3 separate regions of the Homo sapiens genome follow, and regions 2 and 3 are each linked to region 1. The links are contacts of gene promoters, found by promoter capture Hi-C in blood cells and fetal thymus (Javierre and others, 2016). All regions are on one chromosome and are shown on one strand. The core of a region is centred on a gene start or on the middle of the fragment in contact, and the rest is flanking DNA. Distances in the headings are between cores, read along the strand shown.

The links. Contacts are between HindIII fragments. The CHiCAGO score rates a contact against its expected background, and 5 or more counts as called.
Region 2: a fragment that was not itself captured here is called in contact with the fragment with the promoter of CENPH in region 1 in 2 of 17 cell types (neutrophils and total CD4 T cells); the score reaches 6.1 in neutrophils.
Region 3: a fragment that was not itself captured here is called in contact with the fragment with the promoter of CENPH in region 1 in 1 of 17 cell types (neutrophils); the score reaches 7.9 in neutrophils.

The regions. Positions count from the first base shown.
Region 1 is chr5:69,187,878-69,191,974 of GRCh38, forward strand. CENPH (centromere protein H) reads left to right here and starts at 1,706. Exons shown (of 9, transcript NM_022909.4): 1 at 1,706-1,891; 2 at 3,918-3,973. The coding sequence starts at 1,758. LOC112267932 (a long non-coding RNA gene) reads right to left here and starts at 1,600. Exons shown (of 2, transcript XR_002956215.2): 1 at 1,114-1,600. RefSeq lists enhancers at 1,318-1,557, 1,485-1,779 and a silencer at 1,638-1,757. The HindIII fragment of the contact is 12,435 bases long and covers 1-2,280 here.
Region 2 is chr5:69,444,498-69,448,845 of GRCh38, forward strand. No RefSeq gene overlaps it. Among named protein-coding and RNA genes, the nearest start is that of MARVELD2, 32 kb to the left of the region's middle. The HindIII fragment of the contact is 1,202 bases long and covers 1,036-2,237 here.
Region 3 is chr5:69,523,488-69,527,675 of GRCh38, forward strand. The region is part of intron 4 of OCLN (occludin); the gene reads left to right. Among named protein-coding and RNA genes, the nearest start is that of SNORD13B-1, 14 kb to the right of the region's middle. The HindIII fragment of the contact is 5,716 bases long and covers 1-4,188 here.

The DNA.
Region 1 (4,097 bases), core at 456-2,955:
TAAGTCACCACACCTGTTGTTTTTTTGTTTGTTTGTTTGTTTTTGTTTTAAGTAGAAACGAGGTCTCACTATGCTGCCCAGGCTGTTCTCCTGACTTCAAGCGATCCTTCCGCTTTGGCTTCCCAAAGTGCTGGGATTACAGGCGTGGGCCATCGCCACCAGTCCATTCTGTGTCTTTTGAACTGTTTTTTTGTTTGTTTGTTTGTTTTTCGAGAAGGAATCTTGCTCTGTTGCCCAGGCTGGCGTGCATCTCTGGTGTGATCTCGGCTCACTGCAACCTCTGCTTCCCGGGATCAAAGGATTCTCCTGCCTCGGCCTCCCCAGTAGCTGGGATTACAGGTGCCCACCACCACGCCTGGCTAATTTTGTATTTTTAGTAGAGACGAGGTTTCTCCATGTTGGTCAGGCTGGTCTCCAACTCCTGACCTCGAGATCCTCCCCCCTCGGCTTCCCAAAGTGCTGGGATTATAGGTGTGAGCCACAGCGCCCGGCTTTTTTTTTTTTTTTTGAGACGGAGTTTCACTCTGTCACCCAGGCTGAAGTGCAGTGGCGCGATCTCAGCTCACTGCAACCTCCGCCCCCCCGGGTTCAAACGATTCTCCTGCCTCAGCCTCCTGAGTAGCTGGGATTACAGGCGCCCGCCACCACACGCAGCTAACTTTTGTATTTTTAGTAGAGACGGGGTTTCACCATGTTGGCCAGGCTGGTCTTGAATTCCTGACTTCAGGTGATCCACCCGCCTCAGCCCCCAAAGTGCTGGGAGTACAGGGGTGAGCCACCACGCCCAGCGAATTTAACTTTTGTCAGGAGCCGTATTACATTGACAATGGAGAGGAAGAAAACAGCACAGTATGATCAAGTTTAACTAGTGGGTAATTAGCTGTAAAAGAACTCTCGACTCTTGTTCAAAGAGGTTCAAGCTGCTGTGCTTGTGCGGCAAGGACAGTGTCCAAATGAAAAACTACAAATCAGTCATCTGTCCTTCATTTTCTCCATTCCCCCCACTCACTACACAGCTAAGAAAGCTCAAAGGTACCCTGCAGACACTCAAAACTTGAGGGCACGCAACTCTCAGTTACGAGTGGTGGCAATCATAATGACAGAATGAAGTACCAGTGCAAGAAACTGGAAGCGTGTGGATGTCTCCAGGCTGGAAGTCTGGGTTCGAAATGTCTGCAATGCCTCGCACTTGTGGCCCGTCCCTGATCTTCAGAAGCCACTGGTTTCTCCGCCAAACAAAGGGTATGCACCTCATGGGCTCAGGTCAAAAAAGTCTTCTAAACAACCCTCTAATGTTTATCTTTCACAGCCTGCCGGGCACACCCATCTTCAAAGGCAGAGGACGGAAAAGTGCCAAGATGGATGGACATATGGCTGTCGCCGCACTCCCGTGTCCAAGCGCCAAGGCCGAATGACCACTTAGGTCAGGAGATTTTTCCCCTCCAGGCTGCTGTTCCCGGGAGATGTCCCAACGTCTCTAGTCCAGCCCCTAACTCAGCACTCTACACATCCGACGCTTAACGAAAGCTATTCCAACTTTTTACCAGCCGTCTGCAGTTATTTTCACCAGTAGAGCCCGGATGAAAGAGGAGCCCGTAGTAACCACGGCAACCGAAAAACAAGGCGGAAAGGGTGGGGCCCTGGGCGGAAGGGGCGGGGCCCTCGGGCCTTTTCCCGGCGTCCATTTAGTGGCGGGAAAAGCGACCTTTTCTGAGCGCGTTTGCCTGTTGAGTGGTAGCCTTTCCCCTCAACCAGCAATGGAGGAGCAGCCCCAGATGCAAGACGCCGACGAGCCCGCGGACTCCGGAGGGGAAGGCCGGGCAGGCGGGCCACCGCAGGTCGCCGGCGCCCAGGCGGCGTGCAGCGAGGACCGCATGACCCTGCTCCTCAGGTTGTTCCCTTTGGCCTCCTCAGCCGGGGCCAAGTGGGCGTTGTGGCCCGGAACTCCGCCCTTGCTCAGAAGGGCTAGGGTTCGAATTCACGCTCGGTCACGTCAGGTCTCCGTGATTGCCTCATTCACTTAAACTGTTGAAGCTCTTTCTTCATCAGCGAAAAGGAGAGAAAAATGACCCCCTGGAGAGAGGTTACAAGGGTTAAATGAGATAGTCTAGGAAAGTGTTGAGCACAGTGCCCCGGGCCCTTAGAAGCTGTAATTTCTCCTCCTGTTTCCCCGCCCTCCCCCTACCTCTCTGGTTTACAGACAAATTGAATGCCAGAGCTAAACTGGAAGGAAGGTGCCCCTACCATTTCTTTTAGAACTACGACCCTTTGTAACCCAGAAGCTTTATATGTTATAAATTCTACTAAGCGGACGGTGTTTATACTTTTCCACTAAGCGGTTGCTGGGGAAGATTCGATGAGAAGGGACATTCGTCTTCTAAACTAGTGAGCAGGAGAAGGTCCTGGGCCAAATCTGCCTAACTGCCTATTTTTGTGTGACCACTCAAGCTAAGAATAGTTTTTATGTTTAAGTGTTGCAGGGAAAAGATCATAAAAATATTTCATAACACGTGAACTCTATTAGAAATTCAAGTTTCAGTTTCCATAAACAGTTTTATTGGAGTACAACTTTCCTGCCACAAGGGTGGAATTGAGTAGCTAAAACAGAGACCGTGTGACTCACAAACCCTAAAAAATTTACTATCAGGTCCTTTACAGAAAAAAATTTGCGGTCCTCTGTTCTATATCATAACAGAGGTAGTTTTAAAAAAATCATTATTGGCTGAGCGCGGTGGCTCACGCCTGTAATCCCAACACTTTGGGATGCCGAGGCAGACGGATCACCTTAAGTCAGGAGTTCAAGACCAGCCTGGCCAACCATGGCCAACATGGTGAAACCCCGTCTCTACTAAAAATACAAAAATTAGCTGGGCGTGGTGGCGGGCGCCTGTAATCCCAGCTACTCAGGAGGCTGAGGCAAGAGAATTGATTGAACCCGGGAGGCAGAGGTTGCAGTGAGCAGAAGATTGTGCCATTGCACTCCAGCCTGGGCAATAGAGCAAGACTCTTGACTCAAAAAAAAAAAATTAATTACCATTTTTTTCTTTCTTAAATGTTTTGAAAAATGAAAAGATGTCTATTTCTTTTTTATTGTTTTTTCCTCCTCACCCTTGCTGTCATCTTAAATTACCATTTGCTCATAGTTTTTCTACTTATGTATGATTTTTGGATTTATAGAACAACTGAAAAACTATATGAATTAGTAATCCAAGGATTAGTATCTTTGTTATTTTTCTGTATCTCCTGATAAAAATCTGTGTTTGTAAATACAGTGGTTTGGGGTTTAATCATTTTGGTCTATTCTTTGTATAGCATCCTCAGTTCAGTCTGGCCTATTAAAAATAATCTTAAGCGGCCGGGTGCGGTGGCTCACGCCTGTAATCCCAGCACTTTGGGAGGCCGAGGCGGGTGGATCACGAGGTCAGGAGATCAAGACCATCCTGGCTAACACGGTGAAACCCCATCTCTACTAAAAATACAAAAAATTAGCCGGGCATGGTGGCAGGCGCCTGTAGTCCCAGCTGCTTGGGAGCCTGAGGCAGGAGAATGGCGTGAACCCGGGAGGCGGAGCTTGTGGTGAGCCGAGATTGCGCCACTGCACTCCAGCCTGGGCAAGAGTGCAAGACTCCGTCTCAAAAAAAGAAAAAAATCTTAAACACCAATTTTTTAACTTTTCCTGACAGATGCTGTTTTCCCAGTGTATTCCATTTTGTGTCTTCCTCTGAGGCCTTAAAGTTCTTTATACCCATTTTAAATAAAATGAGGCCAAATTAGAAGTTTGTAATTAGGAGTTTAATTATTTATATTTATTTTGTTGTATCAGCTTCCGAAAAAGAATGAGTTGGTTCGTCATGTGGTAATGAGTAAAACCTTAATCAATAAATATGTGACTTTATATTCTCTTTATCTGTTTTCAGGCTGAGAGCACAGACAAAACAACAACTCTTAGAATATAAATCAATGGTTGATGCAAGTAAGTATTTTCATTTTCAAATTAGGGTTTTGTTGTTTGTTTGTTTGTTTTTTTGAGACAGGGTCTTGCTATCACCCAGGCTGTAATGTAGTGGCGCAGTCTCTGGTTTACTGCAGCCTCAGCC
Region 2 (4,348 bases), core at 387-2,886, 260 kb after region 1:
TCTGGAAGCAGGGTGTCAGCTGGGACATGCTCCCTCAAAAACCTGTAGGGGAGTCCTCTTCTAGTTTCTGGTGGTTTGCTGGCCATGTTTGATGTTCCTTGGCTTGTAGATGCATCTCTCCAATCCTCCATTCTCGCATGGCCTTCTCCCTGTCTGGCCATACCAGTCATATTGGATGAGAGGCCCACCTTCTCCAGCATGACCTCCTGTGAACTCATTACATTTGCTAGGACGCTATTTCCAAGTAAAGTCACGTTCTGAGGTACTGGAGGTTAGGAACTTCAGTGTTATCTTTTTGAGAGGCCACAGTTTAGCCTGTAATAGCTACATTTGGCAAGTTACAAGATTCAGAAGGAAAAGTACTTCCCTGTACATTTTCTTTCTTCCATATTATTTTTTCTTTTATTTTTTGTGATGGAGACTCACTCTGTCGCCCAGGCTGGAGTGCAGTAGTGTGATTGGCTCACTGCAACCTCTGCCTCCTGGGTTCAAGCTAGTCTCCTGCCTCAGCCTCCCAAGTAGCTGGGATTACAGGCACTCACCACCACACCCAGCTAAATTCTATATTTTTAGTAGAGACAGGGTTTCATCTTATGTTGGCCAGGCTGTTCTCGAACTCCTGACCTCAAGTGATCTGCCCGCCTCGGCCTCCCAAAGCAATTCCCCTGCCTCAGCCTTCCAAAGTGCTGGGATTACAGGTGTGAACCACTGCACCCAGCCCTTCCATATTATTTCAACATGTATTCTAATTTGAAAATTAATATGAGGATATGTCAGTATATCTAAAACTTGAAAAAAGTATATGCCAGTTATATGTCAAATGCTTTTATTGTCCCAGATATGTTAGCATTAAAGATACTGAAATCAGTGAAACAGGTAGAGACTTTGGGGGTGGTAATGAAGTACATATTTCTAGAAATTGTTTCTGATATTGAGATGCACCGACATTTGAAAGATACAACACAGGAAAAGTCTACAATTTTTTCTGACCATCTTTTTTTAACTATTATAATTTTTAAAAATAATGAGTATAAAAGCTTAGAAAACAAAAGTCCTACCAGTACCAATTCTATTCCCTGGCAGTATATACTGTTTGCAGTATACCCTCCCAGACCTTTGTGGTGTGTATAATCACCTTTATTTATTTATTTATTTATTTATTTTTACAAAAATGGCTTTAGACATTTTATTTTTGAGATGAAGTATTGCTCTGTCGCCCAGGCTGGAGTGCAGTGGCATGATCTTGGCTCACTGCAACCTCCCCCTCCTGGGTTCAAGTGACCCTCCCACCTCAGCCTCCTGAGCAATGAGGACTACAGACGCATACCACCACGCCCAGCTAATTTATGTATTTTTAATAGAGATGTGATTTTGCTGTGTTGGCCAGGCTGATCTTGAACTCCTGACCTCAAGTGATCTGCCCACCTTGGCCTCCCAAAGTGCTGGGATTACAGGCATGAGCCACCACACCTGGCTGTAAAATCACTTTAAAATTGTCTACTTTAATGCTTTCAATGGGTTTCTTTTTTGGGATTGTTGTTGTTGTTTTGATATGGAGTCTTGCTCTGTTGCCCAGGCTGGAGTGTAGTGGTGCTACCTCCGCTCACCACAACCACCACCTCCTGGGTTCAAGCAATTCTCCTGCCTCCGCCTCCTGAGTAGCTGGGATTACAGGCGCACACCACCATGCCCAGCTAATTTTTGTATTTTTAGTAGAGACAGGGTTTCACCATGCTGGCCAGGCTGGTCTTGAACCCCTGACCTCAAGTGATCTACCTGCCTTGGCCTCCCAAAGTGCTGGGATTACAGGCATGAGCCACCATGCCCGGCTGCTTTCAATGGGTTTTTAAAGGAGAGTATGACAGACCTGCTCGAGCATGTAATAGACTACTTGTCCTATAATAGACAAACTGGGGATAGGCAGAAGGCAGGAGGGATGGTTTAGCCCCGCAGAAGGCGAAGAAGGTGAACTTCTGAGCTCATCACAACCAAGACTCCATTTCTTACTATGTGGCCTTGACAAATTAACATCTCCAACCATCAGCCTCCTTAACTGTGATGTGGCGATAATACCACCTGACGAAATTGTTGTGAAAATTAAATAATGTAAAACACCACGAAGATACTTGCTCAATAACTGGTGGCTAGATACTCAAAATATACTTTTCATTGTGTTAAATAATAAGGTGGCTATAGACTATCAAAATGACTTCTTTTGAATAATAAAAGTTATAAAAAGCTTTTTTAAAAAGTATATAGGTAATATATTTATTATAGAAAATTGATTAGGTCAGGGGTGGTGGCTCATGCCAGTAACCCCAGCCCTTTAGGAGGCTGATGTGGGTGGATCACTTGAAGCCAGGAGTTTGAGAACAGCCTGGCCAACATGGCAAAAACCCTTCTCTGCTGAAAATACAAAAATTAGCTGGGCGTGTTGTCGCACACTGTAGTCCCTGGAGGTAGTCCCGGGAGGCTGAGGCACGAGAACCGCTTGAACCTCAGAGGTGGAGGTTGCAGTGAGCTGAGATCGTGCCACTGCACCCCAGCCTGGGCGACAGAGCAAGACTCTGTCTCAGAAAAAAAAAAAAAAAAGTACAAAAATTAGCCTGGTGTGGTGGTGCACGCCTGTAATCTCAGCTACTCGAGAGGTTGAGGCATGAGAATTGCTTGACCCCAGGAGGTGGAGGTTGCAGTTAGCTGAGACCATGCCACTGCACTGCAGCCTGGGTGACAGAGTAAGACTCTGCAGAAGGAAGGGAAGGGAAGGGAGGGGAGGGGAGGGGAGGGGAGGGGAGGGGGAAAGAGAAAGAAGAAAGAGAAAGAAGGAAGGAGAGAAAGAGAGAGGAAGGGAGGGAGGGAGGGAAAGAGAAAAGAAAGAGAAAGAAGAAAAGAAAGAAGAAAGAAAAAGAAGAAAAGAAGGAAGGAAGGGAAGAGAGAGAGAGAGAAAGGAAGGAAGGAAGGAAAGAAAGAAGAGAGGCCAGGTGCGGTGACTCACGCCTGTAATCCCAGTACTTTGGGAGGCTGAGGCAGGCGGATCAAGAGGTCAGGAGATCGAGACTGTTCTGGCTAACATGGTGAAACCGCGTCTCCACTAAAAATACAAAAAATTTAGCTGGGCTTGGTTGCGGGCACTTGTAGTCCCAGCTACTCGGGAGGCTGAGGCAGGAGAATGGCGTGAACCCGGGAGGCGGAGCTTGTAGTGAGCCGAGATCGCGCCACCACACTTCAACCTGGGCAACAGAGCAAGACTCAGTCTCGGAAAAAAAAAAAAAAAAAGAAAGTTATTTTGAAACTCCAACCTCTGATGATAGAATTCAGAATAGGGGTTACCTGTGAGAGAGGTTTATTGGCTGGGAAGGAGCATGAGGGAGCTTTCTGGGTACTATACCTTCATCTGGTTCGTTGCTTACCAGGATATATACATATTTAAAAATCCATCAAGCTAAGCATTTAAAATTGGTGCCTTTTACTGTACATATATTATACATGTATTTTACCTCAATTTTTTTTCTTTTTTAAGACGGAGTCTCTCTCTGTTGCCCAGGCTGGAGTGCAGTGGCGCAATCTCGCCTCACTGCAACCTCCACCTCCAGAGTTCAAGTGACTCTCCTGCCTCAGCCTCCCGAGTAGGTGGGATCACAGGTGTGAGCCACCACGCCCAGCTAATTTTTGTATTTTTAGTAGTGACGGGGTTTCACCATGTTGGTCAGGCTGATCTCGAATTCCTAGCCTCAAGTGATCCACCCACCTCGGCCTCCCAAAGTGCTGGGATTACAAGTGTGAACCACTGCGCCTGGACAGGGTCTTGCTCTGTCTCCCAAGCTGGAGTGCAGTGATGTGATCTCAACTCACTGCAACCTCTGCTTTCCAGGCTCAAGCAGCCCTCCAGCCTCAGACTCCGGAGCAGCTGGGCAGCTGGGACCACAGGAGCAAGCTACCACGCCCAGCTAATTTTTTTTTTTAAGAGATGGGGTTTCCATGTTGCCCAGGCTGGTATATCTCAAATTTTTTTTTTTTTTTTGAGACGGAGTTTTGCACTGTTGCCAGGGCTGGAGTGCAATGGTACGATCTCAGTTCACTACAACCTCTGCCTCCCAGGTTCAAGCGATTCTCCTGCCTCAGCCTCCCGAGTAGCTGGGATTACAGGCGCCTGCCACCATGCCCGGCTAATTTTTTGTATTTTTAGTAGAGACGGGGTTTCACTATGTTGGCCAGGCTGGTCTCGAAGTCCTGACCTCCAGATCTGCCCGCCTTGGCCTCCCAAGTGCTGGGATTACAGGCGTGAGCCACCGTGCTTGGCCCTCAATTTCTAACAATTATACTGTATACATGTTTGAACAAAAGTATG
Region 3 (4,188 bases), core at 546-3,045, 340 kb after region 1:
CCATGCCAGTAGATTCTTAGGAAAAACCTTAATGATTACCTTTTTTTTTTTTTTTAATTATTTTTTGAGATGAAGTCTTGCTCTGTCACACAGGCTAGAGTGCAGTGGCATGATCTCGGCTCACTGCAACCTCCACCTCCCGGGTTCAAGCGATTCTCCTGCCTCAGCCTCCTAAGTAGCTGGGATTACAGGCATGTGTCACCACACCCAGCTAATTTTTGTATTTTTAGTAGACATGGGGTTTTGCCACGTTGGCCAGGCTGGTCTCAAACTCCTGACCTCAGGTGATCCACCCGCCTCAGCCTCCCAAAGTGCTGGGGTTACAGGTGTAAGCCACCGTGCCCGGCCAATGATTACCTTTTTAAAAACTGGACTTTAAGGCTGAGCACAGTGGCTGACACTTGTAATCCCAGCACTTTGGGAGACCAAGGTGCGTAGATCAGTTGAGGTCAGGAGTTTGAGACCATCCTGGCCAACATGGTGAAACCCTGTCTCTACTGAAAATACAAAAATTAGCTGGGCCTGGTGGCGCATGCCTGTAGTCCCAGCTACTCTGGAGGCTGAGGTGGGAAATCACCTGAACCTGGGAGGTGGAGGTTGCAGTGAGCCGAGATGTGCCACTGCACTTCAGGCTGGGTGACAAAGTGAGACTCTGTCTCTAAAAACAAAAACTGGACTTCAGGTGCACAGAAATAGATTAATTCAATTCTTAGTTTATGACATTATCACCTTTAGTCCATGCATAGCATTCCTGGTACATTTATTGTTTCATAATGAACACCTGCAGATCTACCATCCCACCTAATAATTACAATACATTACTAAGTTACATTATACATTTTTTACTCTCTCATCTACTTGCTTCTACCTGCCCCCAGAGGTAGCCTATCTAGAATTTTGAGTTTATTATAATTTGCTTTTTAAGTTTTTACCTGCATACATGTATAACTTAGCAACATGATTTTGTTTTGGGTGTTTTTTAACTTTGTAGAAGGTGTACCTGCATGTAGTGTCTTGGCATTTGCCTTTTTACGCAGAGTTAGGTTATAGATTAATACATGTTGATGGAGTTGAAGTCCATCTGATGTCGCCATTGTCTGGTCCTCTATTTTATCACATTTCACAGCAGTTTATCCAGTTTCCTTTTAATGGGGTTTTGGATTATTAAGACCATTACAACTGCCATGAACATTTTTATTTTTTATTTATTTATTTTTAAGATAGTGTCTTGCTCTGTTGCCTGGGCTGGAATGTAGTGGCATGATCTTGGCTCACTGTAACCTCCGCCTCCCGGGTTCAAGCAATTTTCCCACTTCAGCCTCCCAAGTAGCTGGGATTATAGGCGTATGCCACCACACCTGGCTAATTTTTGTATTTTTAGTAGAGACAGGGTTTTGCCATGTTGGCCAGGCTGGTCTCAAACTCCTGACCTCAAGTGATCCACCTGCCTTGGCCTCCCAAAGTTCTGGGATTACAGGTGTGAGTGTAATCCCGTGAATCCCGCCTGGCCCCATGAACATTTTTAAATCACCTATACTTGTGAACATTTCTCTTGGCTATGTACCTAAGAGTGGAACTTCTGGGATGCAGCGTTTGTGAGTGTACATTTCTTTCTTTTCTTTTCTTTTTTTTTTTGAGACAGGGTCTCGCTCTGTCACCCAGGCTGGAGTGCAGTGGTGCGATCTCGGCTCACTGCGAGCTCCACCTCCCGGGTTGACGCCATTCTCCTGCCTCAGCCTCCTGAGTAGCTGGGACTACAGGTGCCCGCCACCACACCCAGCTAATTTTTTGTATTTTTAGTCTAGACGGGGTTTCGCCATGTTAGCCAGGATGGTCTCGATCTCCTGACCTCATGATCCGCCCGCCTCAGCCTCCCAAAGTGCTGGGATTACAGGCGTGAGCCACCGTGCCTGGCCTGTGAGTGTACATTTCTATAAGACAATGTCAAATTATTTTTCATATATAATCTAAACCAGCAACTCTTGGTGGTGTTAGACTTTATAATATTTTCCAGTCAAACGTGTAAAAGTGTATCAGTGTTGTCTTGGTTTATATTTCTTCTGAACATGTCATGTTTATTGGCCTAATGTGTTTTCTCTTCTACTTTTTACCTTTTGGCAATTGCTGAGGTGGCAAAACTCAACCAGTTTCTCTGATACTCTTGATTTTTATAAGAGTTTTTATGGGGTAAAGGTCAACTTTTTATGAGGCATAGTCCTGAGGAAGTATAGTCTATTGCGTGATCATTAGTGTCCTTTTCACAAATGACTAACCCTTTATAGATATGACAAGCCAAAGTGCCTTCTCTCCTTTAGGGAAAGATGTGTTCCTTCCCTTTTCCATTGTGTTGATGGTATGATAGAGGTCCTTCTCAGGGCTGAGAATCAACTAATGTTTCCACTGTGATAAAAGTAGGTACCCTCAGCTGTTCTCATGCCGAGTGAACCTTCTCACCGTTTTTCTAGGTTATTTTATGACACCTGGACCAGAAAACCAGGCACTGTCAGGTTTGAGCATCACTGTAGGCAAAAGAGACCCTTAACTTGTAGGTCTTTACGAGGTACAGTGGTCTGCAACATAGAAGAGAATTGTGTCTACGTCAGTAGTTCTCAAACTTTTGCAGGCAACAGAATCACCTGGAGGGCTCATTGAAACAGCCCACTCACTCCCACCCTGGAGTTTATGATGTGTGCGCTAGGCCTGGCTGGGGCCTAGGTCGGTAATATTAATGTAGCTGGTCTGGAGACCATATTTCGAGAACCACTATTTTATAGATTCAAGCTGCAACCATTAAACTGTAAGCAAGTTATCATTACATCATGGCATACTTGGAAAATGGTGACTTAGTACAAAATACTGGAGTAAACTGAGGGGGATCTGGAACTGCAGATGATTGGCTCACAGGCTGGGCGACCAAAGACATCCTGGCACACCTGTTGAAAAACTCTGGCATGAGGTACAGGTATATTTAACAGTCTTCACAGGGATTTTTGTTTAAGTAAGGGGCCTTGAATGAGATCATTGGTAAGCCTCACTGAGTACAAGGTTTTTCTACCTCATCCCCTTCCAGAGCTCTAATAACTTATTGACTCTCAGGGAATTTCAGAATTTACCTTTGGTGGTGTCAACCTAAAGATTGACACAATTATAAATTTAGAAAGGATCTCCAGCTGTGAAAGAAAAAAGTAGAAAGGAGACTATTTATTATAAAGGGTTACAACCTGTAAGGTGGCCATCCTTGACAGTCTTGGAAGCGTAGCTTCTGGCAGACACTGAAAGGCACTTAGAAGGAGATGGAGTTGGGACAAGAGCTTAATGCTGAACAGGTTGGCCATACATTCCTATTCAACAGGTTATAGGAGGAGCTATGAATATCCGTGAATGGGGTCCTGATGCATGCGTAATGAACAAACATTCGTGTTACATACATCCCATGTTCACTTTGGGGTGGAGACTTAACATTTAAATGTATTACAATTAGGCCCTGTACATCAAAAGGTGAAGCAGGGGCCAGGCGCGGTGGCTCACACCTGTAATCCTAGCACTTTGGGAGGCCGAGGCGGGCGGATCACCTGAGGTCAGGAGTTCGAGACAAGCTGGCCAACATGGTGAAACTCCTTCTCTTCTAAAAATATAAAAATTAGCTGGGTGTGGTGGTGGGCGCCTGCAATCCCAGCTACTCAGGAGGCTGAGGCAGGGGAATTGCTTGAACCCAGGAGACGGTGGTTGCAGTGAGCCGACACAGTGCCACTGCACTCCAGCCTGGGTAACAGAGTGAGACTTCGTCTCAAAAAAAAAAAAAAGGTGAAGCAGGAACACAAGGCACTCACGTGCAGCCTCTGCAAGCTGGCCAGAACCATTCCACGGCTGCTAGTCTCTGATCAGGAGAAAGTTACTGAAATCAGTTTCTTGTCCAGTCAAAGCTGTATGGCTTGTGGAACAGGGGTCAGTCAGTATCTGTTGGTGGATGAGCTGCAGTTGTTTTCTTTTTGTATTTTTTTGTAAGTTTTTATTTTTAATTTTTGTGGGTACATAGTAGGCTTACGCAATTGCTTTAATCTTGCTTATCTTGAGGCCAGTGCTTGTTTGGCTGCTGGAGAAAAAGAGCAACCTTATGGTGGTTAGAACATAGTGTATGGTTAGGACAAATGTAGGGGTGTGGGATTTAACCCTTGTCTGGCATGGCCT